Regions from separate parts of the Homo sapiens genome. Here regions 1, 3 and 4 are each linked to region 2. Evidence: promoter capture Hi-C in 16 types of primary human blood cells and fetal thymus (Javierre and others, 2016). All regions are on one chromosome and are shown on one strand. Each heading gives the region's core, a stretch centred on a gene start or on the middle of the fragment in contact. The rest is flanking DNA. Distances are from core to core; before and after follow the strand shown.

Region 1 (2,700 bases), core at 166-2,665, 660 kb after region 2:
CTGCCCCATATATCCCTTCAACCTCCTCCTCTGTCATGCCTCCACATACACCCCATGCTCTAGCTAAGCACCTCTCACTTCTTCCCACACCTTTGCTTAAGATGTTACTTCCACCTTAAGCCCTTCACTTCCCGTTACTTTTCAGCTCATCCTTTAAAAGGCTTTGCTCAGAATACCTTCTCCTGGGGAAGCCCTTCCCCAGTTCCCATTTGGAATTAATGGAGCTCCTGGAGGTCCTTTACACTGCCCTGCATCAGACAAAGCCTTATTATTATTATTTATAACATGACCCCCTTGTCCTGACCTCCAGGAAGGCAATGACCAGAGTTATAGTTGCTGTCACCCCAGTACCTGCTAGAGTTTGGCTGTGGTAAAGGCTCATGGACTGTGTGTTGATAGGCTTAAATTCCAAGTGTGATGCCATTCTTTGCTGAGAGCCATGTGCATTGCAATTTACTAAGCTCCAGTTTTCCTCTGATCAAGGCAATCTCTCACAACAGAAAGCTGGCTCAGAAACTTTGGAGCAAACCGTCCTGGTTTGAATTCCACAGCTGCTACTTATTCGGTGGTGACCTTGTGCAAGTTACTTAATCTTTTTTAAAAAATAAATTTTATTGTGTATATTTAAAGTATACAACACGATGTTGTAAGATACATATATATAGTGAAATGGGTCCCATCATCTCACAGAGTTACCCATTTCCCCCCACTGAAGTCACTTTATCTGGCTATGTCTCAGCTTACCACCTCAATAATGGGGGAACACCATTAACTCTCACAATGATTTAAAATAGGTGTCACATTGTAGGCTTTCTATAAATTTTATTTCCCGCCCACTGTGAGAAATGAACTTGATAAACTCAACAGTCCCAGGCTACTCCATTCATAGGAAAGAAAACTTCAAGCTTTCAGTTCAAAAGGAAATGTTGGATTTAGCATTTAGGGCTGGAATTTGGCTTCACATCTTGCCCTCTTACCCACCCCAACTTCAGACCATTACCACTCTGATTAAATGGATTTGTTTCAGCTCCCACCCATATTACATCCTGATTCCTTTTCAACAAATTCCTGGACATCTTCACAAGAAGGGAACAGAATTTTGTGATTCAGAGTTATTTGATTGATATTCTGACCTTATTTCTTCTTTAAAGAACTTCTTGCAAATAGATGTCCCGATGCAGGCATTGCATTTATCAAGACCGAGGAAAGTCCTTCCAAAATTGTAGCTGGTTCTGACTTGGGGCACCAGAGAAGAAAGGGAAGAAGCTGGCAAGGAGAAAGAACAGCTCAGGGCTGAGACCCACAGCAGCAGGGCCAGCCAGCCAGGGCGGAGGGCGGCAGCCTCAGGCCCCAGCTGGGGCTCCATCTTGGGCTCTGGGCTCCAGCTGCAGCCTCTGGCTGTCCACTCGAGGCTGTACAGAGGCAGGGCTTGGCCAAAGAGGAAGCTGTCAGAGGGGGCTGGCTTCTGGGTGCTGACCCCATCCCAGCCTCCCAGGTTTCTCTTTGAGGATGCTGAGGAGCTTGGGGCTAATGAGGCTGGGGAGGAGGTGAGGAAGTCAGTGGAGGATGCTGATAACGCTGTTTCCAGAGTTACTCTTCCTTTGCCGGGGGTGGCTGCTTCAGGCTGGGGAGGGGCTCGCTGGCAGATTTCGGGAAGGACAATTGTCAGGGCTTCCCTGTGTGGTCCTTTTGACAAACACAGGATATCCCGGCAGGGCAGGAAAGGTCCATGCAGGATGTGTGTCCAACCTGCGTTCCACCTGGGAGTTTCAAAGGATCCTGAAAGCCTCCACCCTCCACTGTTTTAATTCCAGGTTTATCTGTCCCTATGGATTACACGTGCACCCCAATTTTTGACCCCTCTGTGCTAGGTCATTTGTCCTGCCCCTTAATCAGCCCTCCTTCCCCCACTTTTACCATATTTGCCTGTGAAATAACTAGAGGTTAGCTTGCTTGCCATTAACTGGCACATTTAGCACTGATTTGAAAGCTTTTTGCTGCTTAGGGAAGAGAAAACCTCAGGTTAGTCCATCTTCTCTTGCTGGTCTGAGAACAAGAGACCAGAAAGAACCCGGTGGCCTCTGTGGCATGATGAGGGGAGCACCAGAAAGAGCCCTCTGACAGCACACAGCTGTGTCTATCCCTCTCCCACAGACCTGAAAGCTTCTCTTCCTTTACCAACTTGCTTCACTTCTCGGGGTGGCTTGGCCGGATTTGGTAGGATTTAACTGCCCCAGGATTGCCTTCCTCAGGATACCAAGATAAGGTCCGCAGCATGGAGTAGATGGAAGTGCTAATTTGGGAGTAGAGAGAACCTCTGAGAACCAAATCAGGGAAGTCAGGCTGCCTCACATTCTGTGAGAGGGTGGAGGTGGGGAGCGGGGCACGGTTTGAAAATATGAGAAAGTGCATAGGAAGATGGGGCTGGGGGTGAGGAAAAGGGAGGTAAGAGGGAGTGGGGATTGCCTCTGGACAATTGACAAGTTTTGCTAAAGATTGGTGGGAAGAGCAGGTAAAGGCAATTTTCTGATGATGAAGCACGTGCTTATTAGCATTTGTATAGCTTCCTCAGTAAAATGTCTGGTCATGTTTGCTTTTTATTGGTGAGTTTTGACGCTTGTTTATATATTCTAGATCCGAGTCCTCTGTTGGATATGTGGCTTGCAAATATTTTCTCCCCAGGGCTAACTTGTCTTTTAT
Region 2 (2,700 bases), core at 116-2,615:
ATTCATACTGAGCATTTTACACTGCTCTGTACAGGGCTGACAATACTAGAGGCCAGTTCTACCGTGGGAGTTTCTTAGGTTTTTTCAGCAGTTAGCACTGAATGAAATGTAAAAATTTACATATAATTAACTCATATATTTCTTCCTATCTACTATCACTGAATCAGATCCACGACATTTGCTGAACATGAGAATGGGGAAATTATATAAAGAATCAAAAGAAGGATGAGGAGGGAGAAGAGGAACAGTGGTGGGCATGGGGGAGGGGATCGCCAAAACTCAACAGGGAGCCTGGGAATGTAGATTACATCAATTTTAACTCAGAGAAAAGCCTCTTCTGGAATTAACAGTGTAGACCTACTGCCTGTGCACGGTGATTCTTGCCCATGTATGAAAGGACAGCAGTGTCAGGCCCCCAAATGAAATTTAATGAAAAAGACGTTGTTCTCACCAGCCAGTAACGCCACCCATTACAATCTGGGTAGCTACTGAGTATTTTTCTACCATAGGTCCCGAACTGTGGCCAAACACTCGATTCCACCACTGGTGTCTTCTTGCATACTCAGTTAAATCCAACACTTCATAAGAGTCGTCATCACTTTCATAGTCTTCAAAATAGCAAAATGCAAAAAATAAATGTAGAGTCAATCAAAAGTCAGAAATGTTCTATACATCTTTTTAAAAATCTGTTACAACTCATTAGTTCTGGCCTACAGCTAAAAATGCCCACATAGAAACTACTGACTTTATTTAACTCAATTCTTGAGACCAGGGCCTCAAGAGTAAAGGACCCTGCAACAATGACCCCCATCTGCTTTCCCAAAGGCCCGGGGACCAGCCTGGGGTCACGAAGCCAGGGCCAACTCAGAATGACACAGTAGTGAGGGGTCACCCCCACCTCCAAACCTTAGTAGGGTCAAGGTCAGAGCAGGGTCCATTTTCATCAGTGGGAGGAATGGGGGTGGGGAGGGGTCCTCCTGAGAGAACTAGTCTGGAGCTCAGCGAAATCACTTGAGTCCAGACGTTTAAAAAAAGAAAATAATACATTTGAAGATGGGAGATGAAGGGCCGGAGGTGAAGGTAAGGCAGGAGGCAGGTAGGGCTGTGCTGGGGGTGGGGGTGGCTCTCCGCTTGAGTTCCGCAGAGAGGGGAGGAAAAAGTCTAGCTCGGAGGGGGTGCTCGAAGGGGCTGCCTTAAAAAAAAAATGGAGCTCGAAGAATCCTAGGGCAGGGGAAGGAAGAGGTGCCATAGGAGCAAGGTCGAGAGCTGTGAGCCGCGTCCCAGATACCACTTCGGGCCCTGGCCGCTCACCTTGGGGAGGGGGGTTCCGGGTCGCCATGATACCGCCAGCGGCCAATTCTGGAGTGGTCCCCACCCGCCCTCCTCTCCCTGGCACTTTAAGGGCCGCTCTAGGCCAGGATGGAAGTCTATGGTCTCTTTTTTCCTCCTTCTCCTACTCCAGGCGCGTAGTCCTGTCTCCGCCCCCTTCTCTCAGCGCAGGACCTTCTGCCTTCTGCGCAGGCGCGAAACTCCGGAATGTGGGGAGGGCCGGGCGGATCATAGCCCCGCGAGAGCGTAGGGGACTTGTAGTCCGTTGCCTTCCGCAACTAGGAAGGGGGAGGGACCGCCCCTCCTAGAATTTCCGTAACTTGAATTTGATTATTTTGTTTTAAAAGAGCCTTAAGGGCTGAAGGAATGGGGTGAAGGGCGCCACATGGTGGTACAAAGGGAGAACCAGCTGGGTATTGACAAAGACTCTCTCCTTGACCAAACTTTAGTCAGGAGGCTCCTCTGAGCTGTTTTTGACTGGGTCTCCTCCTTGGGTCGTCTTTGACCTGCCTAGTCCATTTGTGGTAAGAATGCAGTTAAGTCAGTTTAGTAAGAACTCCCCCACCCTTAATATCGAATCACCCTCAATATCCGATCGAATTCCTCAACCCCACTCTTGATATCTGATCACTCTGCCACCAGCAAAAATCCTGTTAAATTGGCTTTAGCAAGAATACCCCTACCCTTCATGTCTACTCTTGGTAATCTTCCACCCATTGATCCATTCACTCTGATCATTTACTATAAATTCCCTGCTGTATTCAGAGTTGAGACCCATCACTCACCCCTATTGCCATAGTCTTTGTTTTATGAGAAAAGGTATTGCTCTGTCACCAGGCTGGAGTGCAGTGGCGCTATCATGGCTCACTGCAGCCTCAAACTCCTGGGCCCAAGAGATCGGCCCACCTCAGCCTCCAGAGTACCCAGGACTCCAGGCGTGCATCACCACTCCCGGCTAATTTATTTTTATTTTTTGTGGAGAGTAGGTCTCCCTGTGTTGCCCAGGCTGCTCTTAAACTTCTGGGCTCAAGCAGTCTTCCTGCCTCTGCCTCCCAAAGTGCTGGGATTACAGATGTGAGCCACCATGCCAGGCTGTATTGCAATAGTTGTGATACCTATTGCAGTAGTCATGAACAAAGTCTTCCTTACCATTTTAAGAAGTGTCCCATAATTTTTTTGTCAGGCCCATCACTTGCATACTGTCAGAATAATTTTTTAACAGTATTTTGAACATTACCAGAATTCAAATGCTTGAGGAAAAAGGCTTGTAAAAGATAAGAGAAACCCTGTTTCAAGCCATACTTTTCTAAGGGCGCAAGCGCTCACAAAGGGACCACAAGTTTTCTAATGCCCTGCTGCTAGAAGTTGGAA
Region 3 (2,752 bases), core at 223-2,722, 570 kb before region 2:
AATTAGTAAGACTGATGAGAAGAAAATGAGCAGATATTTGCATCTGGTTTAAACGCTCAGTTGAGAAGCATTGTGCCGTCCCCGCTGTATTTGGTTGACACCCACAGCAACTCCCCATTTCAGTCATCTCTCTGTTTTCAAATGCACCTGGTATTTAATCTTATGTGTTGGGGTAATTTGCCAATGCCAGCTCCTTGTAATTAAAATACACTAATATTAGAAATGAAAAGAGACATGTTTCACAGCAGCCATATCTGTTATTAATGAGTTACAAAGAACTGTACAAGGGACTCCCATCTTGCCAAATAGCTTCCTTTCCCGCACCTGAATCTCAGTAAAGATGGGAGTCTGCCTCTCATGGAGGCTTATCTGGGTTTGTCTATTACAATGAGCCTCAGTTACTGGGCGTTCTGAGTCATTAACATTCTGTACACAATCAAACTTCCCGTCCCCCAAGAAAGAGTTATGCCCAGGCCTCCTACAGCTCAATTGTTCATTTAAAGAGAGAACTTGTATTCCAAAGTTTGAAAGAAACCTCGGAATATCCCGCAGGTAGGAGTCATTCCTACAGGTCCTGGTCTCTGTGCTGGTGGGAGCATCCTTTCCCGGTCACTCCTTGAACATCATGCTGCAGGGACGAGCTGATGACTAAAAATAACCCCCTGCAATAAGTCCAAGGCAAACAGCATGCATTTCCTCGGACTTTTTGCCCAATCAAAATCATACAGTAAATCCATCCTCATCTCCTCCCGGTGCTCCCCAATGCATCTATGGAAGCGAAGACCTGCACGCTGAAAGAAGAGTGCAAGGGAGCAGGATTCCTGCAAAGCGTGACACAGAAAGCTAGAAATAAATGTTGCCTATTGTTTGAAGTCATTCTGAGCACTCCGGCAGAGCCCTGGCAGGAGATCAGCAGCATACATAAGTAGTAATAAAAGTAAACAGTGCGCTTTTAAACTCGCAGTCTTGCCTGCGTTAATAGTGCCCCCATTGTAAGTGGGATGAGGGTGCTGGGGAAGATACTGGGCTCCATGAATCCATGTTGGCAAGTTGCTGCTTCGCAGCCCCCTTTCACGGGGTCAACTATAAGAACCATCACAAAGTTACATCTAACTACGCAGAGAGTTTGAAAAGAAAAATCTCTTTAAGTCAAACCAAAAGATATTTTCAAGCTTTTCTAGGAGGCTCCCTGCTCTGTCACAGACTTCAAAGACCCGTTCATTTAAGAAACACAATGCTAGCATGCTACAGATTAATGCAAATTAAAGTAATGCAAATTTAAGTGGTATTTAAAGGTTGTCTCTTTGTCTGAGAGGAGGATGAAATGCTCGGTTTGGAAAGAAGCGATTTCCTAGGCAAGCCGGCAGCGCTTGTTTTCCTGCTTACCTTAGGGGAACGCAGGGCTCCTTTCTTCTCAGACTTTTCTGAGAGCTAGAAAGAGGTCCTGTTACTTCCAAATGCTTTTGTTCTTCTGTCCCTCTGTCACATGGCTTGCCTTTTATATTTGCAACACACAAAAGTTAGGACTGTTGTTTAAGCGACACAGGGAGAGAGAGAGAGGGAGAGAGAGAGGGAGAGAGAGAGAGGGAGAGAGAGAGAGAGAATGTCAAATGGAAAAGTGCCATTGCAGTCATATATCAATCAGGCGTGCGGCCGCAGCAGCGCACTAGCAAATGGGAATGCCACGGAAATGTGAGGCGCTCGTTATCGGGGACTCAGCCTCTGCCCACCGCTCGGCTCCCTTCCACGGAGCATCTTACGATGGGAACAGCGTAGCAGAACAAGGGCGAGGAAGTTTCTTTCTTTCTTTCTTTTTTAATGGTATTATGGAACTAATAAGAGGCCAAATGAATATTCTGAATTTAATTCTTTTTCAAGCATGTGGCTGCCATAAAGATGTGCCGTCCGCAATAGAGACGTATAGTTTTGGAAATACAAAGGCAGTGTGGCATTCTGTTGAACGATTCGGCAGCTGACTGTGATGAAGTTGAAATTTTAAGTAAGAGAGGGGAAAGATGGGAACCAGAAATTTTTTTCTCAGGCGATGCTGTTAAAGCAAGTGCAAAACGCTGCCCTATTTTATCACGATGTGTGTGGGTGGTGAGAGTTCTTTTTTTCCGGGTTGTTCATCCATTAAATGATTTTTAGCAGCATATACATGATTAAATTCACAATGGCACTTTAATAAGCCCCTTCATCTGCATCATTTAGAATAAAACTTTAGGTCTGATTTAGAAACAATGAGAACGTGTATTCCTTGACTCCTTGAGCTATATGAAGGAGAAACTAATAGATAAAGCTAACCCATTACACAACAACTAGTAGAAAAGTGACAAAGGTAACTATGTGTGTGGGTTAAATACCTGCAGCTGAATCATGCTGTGTTATGAGCTGTGGGACTACAAAGGCAAATATTTCATAATTCTTGCCCTTTGAAAGCTTAAAATTAACACAGAAAACCGTCAGGGATTTTGGAGGAAAATACAAAGAACATTTAATAATTATTTTATGTCAGGTAAATCAGACCCAGAATAATTTGTTTTATTAATACTACTGATGAAGAATTAAACTGAGAATTTAAAATATATATATTTCGTGGAAAAAATAATACATTATAAAACTCAAAAAGAAATTTTTCTTGGGAGCTTCATGTAATTGTTGATGCTGAAACTGTCTTGTTCAACTCTGTATCAAACTATTTGTTATTCATTAATAAATTTACATTCACCTTATTACTTTTCCATGGGACCTT
Region 4 (2,700 bases), core at 29-2,528, 640 kb after region 2:
TCACAAATTAGTGATTAGTGGGCTGATCCTGGATCACAGGAAATATTCTAAAACAGGTTATTCATAGGATAATTTGTGAGCCTCCAGATGGGGAAATGATGATCTTAAGGAGTCACTGAGGATTCTTTTAATCAAATCATTCCAGACTAACAACTTTTTTTTCTTTGACCTGGTAGTTTGATTTTTAATCAGAGAAATTCAATAGACAGAATATATGAACTTTAGTGAAGCATTCAACAGTGATTCTCATGAGACCCCTATAAAACAAAAGGGGAAACAAGATTTGGGCTGCATAGAAAAATTAAGATGATTAGTAATTGGTTAACTGAGTTTACCTAACAACTAACGGATTAACCCCTATAGAGAAAGAAAGCTTTTTATTTGGCCCTGTTCTGGTTAACATTTTTATAGAGGACTAAGACATAGATAAAAATTGTGTTCATCAAAACTGAGAATAATATGTACTTGGGGTGATACGGGGTATGATAAGTATCAGAAACAAGTTGACAGGCTAGAATAATGGATTTAATATAAGAAGATCATATATAACAGGATAAACAAAAGGTTCTGTCCTTGTGAACTAAAATCTAGCTACAGAAGGGGTTTCAGTTGACATAACATTTAAGAAGCTTCAATATGAGAGGAATGCCGAGATGAAAAAGAGAACTGGGGATGTTTACAATGGGGAAGCCAGGATTTAGGAGCTGCGTGTATGGGAGGGCATATGTCATGTATAATCTGTATGATTCCAGGGCGTAGAAATACTTTACATAAGTGAGAGCTACAAGAAGACAGATTTGGGATGAACTTTCCAAGTATCTGTTCTGTCCAAAGAAGGCATAAGCTGAAGGTAGTGAGTTTCCTGTCACTGTATGATACGGTAGATGACCCTTTGCCTTACAGAAAGGATGCAAATATGTTAGAGTTCAAATTGCTGAGCTTTCAAATTTATTTCAACCCCAAGAATCTATGACATATGTGTAATTCAGTAAGTAGAAATAGATTTTGATCTTTAACAAATTGATATATTGCTCTGTGGTTTGCTCTCATATATAAACCAGGAATAAATATATTTATTCCCTGCTTAACCCACACAAAAGGTTTATAAATTATGCCTTCCACAGACCTCTTGATAATCCTAAGAGAGAAGCGCTAACACAATTGTAAAAATTATTACTGCCATAAGTGGCCTTGAGTTAGGAACAAATTAATATGCGTTTTTAATATCTTTTTGTATTATTTCTCCACATTAATGACCGAACTTGTGTCAACAGCAGCCTAACAGAACCCTGGATTGATTTTCAATTTTCCTCTGAGCAGTGATTTGGCAAAGGCTAAATCATAGTTTGGGGAAATATAGAGTTTTCATCATTGTTATTATCCTGATATTATTACAATTTCAATTATTTGCTCTGTGGCTCAAAAGATAATGTTTTTACATTTCTGCTTTGGTATTTTTTTTTCCTATTATAGTTAATGTCTGATGTGATTCTCTTTTGATTAGATAAAATGATCTTTAATATTTCTACTTTAAAAAATGTATTGAGGGGTTTTGTGGCTTAATACACAGAACACAATCACGGTAGCACAATCAATTGATATAGTGGTTAAGTTCTGCTTATTAGGCCACAAATATTGTGTTAGAACACAATCACTATATTAACTGATGTCTTCCAAGTGACTTTCTTTATAGATAAATACTATATATTATATAGTTTAACCTTTGATTCCTTCATAGCATGTGGACATGCATAGAGGGACAGCCAATCCAGAGGCCTCTGGGCCAAGTCACACTTAACGGCAAAAGCATTTTTTTCTGAGTACATCAGGATAGAGGTAATGAGATATCAAAGGAAGAATTGTATAGAACAAAGGATGCCTTGATTTTTTAAAAAAGGGGCTTGATTGGTAACATCTAAGTTTAGGGAAAGCTTAAAGCCCTGTAAAAGCAAAGCTTGCTTTGTATTGTTTGTTCTGATGATTATTCAGGCTTCGGTTACGTTTTGGCTGGGGGCGGCCTGTATTCTGTATTTGAGCATCATCTGGAAGGAGCCACTGGTGACTTGTCTCATGTCTATCTTTCCCCTAGTCTTCTCTTGCCTCCTTTTTCTTTCTCAACTTGTCTGTGTCAGGACTGGGGAAGCCTTTCACTGTCTCATTTTCTTTCTTTTCTTTTCTTTTTTTTTTTTTTTTTGAGATGGAGTCTCGCTCTGTTGCCCAGGCTGGAGTGCAGTGGCGCAGTCTCGGCTCACTGCAACCTCCGCCTCCTGGGTTCACACCATTCTCCTGCCTCAGCCTCCCGAGTAGCTGAGACTACAGGTGCCTGCCACCACGCCTGGCTAATTTTTTGTATTTTTAGTAGAGACAGAGTTTCACCATGTTAGCCAGGATGGTCTCGATCTCCTGACCTCGTGATCCGCCCGCCTCGGCCTCCCAAAGTGCTGGGATTACAGGCGTGAGCCACCGCGCCCGGCCGACTGTCTCATTTTCATTCGTGAGCTCCATCAAGAATAATTTAGGGGTAATTTGAGTGGGCACAGTGGGTGATTATTAGTCCCTTTTCTATGAGACTGTGACACAATGGAATTTGGAAATGAGCAGGTTAGTCTCTGACCCATTCCAAGTAACCTCTTTGCCACAAATGTTGAGATAGCAAAGTTTTCATGGTTGTAATCTTAAATAAATTAGATGATTCAAAAT

What was found. The method cuts DNA at HindIII sites, captures the fragments that hold promoters and counts their contacts. A CHiCAGO score of 5 or more calls a contact.
Region 1: a contact is called between the fragment with the promoter of DIPK2B here and the fragment with the promoter of FUNDC1 in region 2, in 3 of 17 cell types (neutrophils, endothelial precursors and monocytes). The highest score is 6.0, in neutrophils.
Region 3: a contact is called between the fragment with the promoter of NDP here and the fragment with the promoter of FUNDC1 in region 2, in 11 of 17 cell types (total CD4 T cells, non-activated CD4 T cells, naive CD8 T cells and 8 more). The highest score is 12.9, in total CD4 T cells.
Region 4: a fragment that was not itself captured here is called in contact with the fragment with the promoter of FUNDC1 in region 2 in 1 of 17 cell types (total B cells); the score reaches 5.1 in total B cells.

The regions. Positions count from the first base shown.
Region 1 is chrX:45,199,461-45,202,160 of GRCh38, forward strand. DIPK2B (divergent protein kinase domain 2B) reads right to left here and starts at 1,416. Exons shown (of 5, transcript NM_176819.4): 1 at 1,134-1,416. The coding sequence starts at 1,366. The HindIII fragment of the contact is 1,085 bases long and covers 904-1,988 here.
Region 2 is chrX:44,541,494-44,544,193 of GRCh38, forward strand. FUNDC1 (FUN14 domain containing 1) reads right to left here and starts at 1,366. Exons shown (of 5, transcript NM_173794.4): 1 at 1,312-1,366; 2 at 452-608. The coding sequence starts at 1,339. RefSeq lists enhancers at 1,061-1,450, 1,631-1,680, 1,691-1,750. The HindIII fragment of the contact is 14,705 bases long and covers 1-2,700 here.
Region 3 is chrX:43,971,918-43,974,669 of GRCh38, forward strand. It overlaps NDP (norrin cystine knot growth factor NDP), which reads right to left and starts at 1,473. Exons shown (of 3, transcript NM_000266.4): 1 at 1,387-1,473. The HindIII fragment of the contact is 1,267 bases long and covers 1,171-2,437 here.
Region 4 is chrX:45,183,477-45,186,176 of GRCh38, forward strand. The region is part of intron 2 of DIPK2B (divergent protein kinase domain 2B); the gene reads right to left. Among named protein-coding and RNA genes, the nearest start is that of DIPK2B, 16 kb to the right of the region's middle. The HindIII fragment of the contact is 1,302 bases long and covers 628-1,929 here.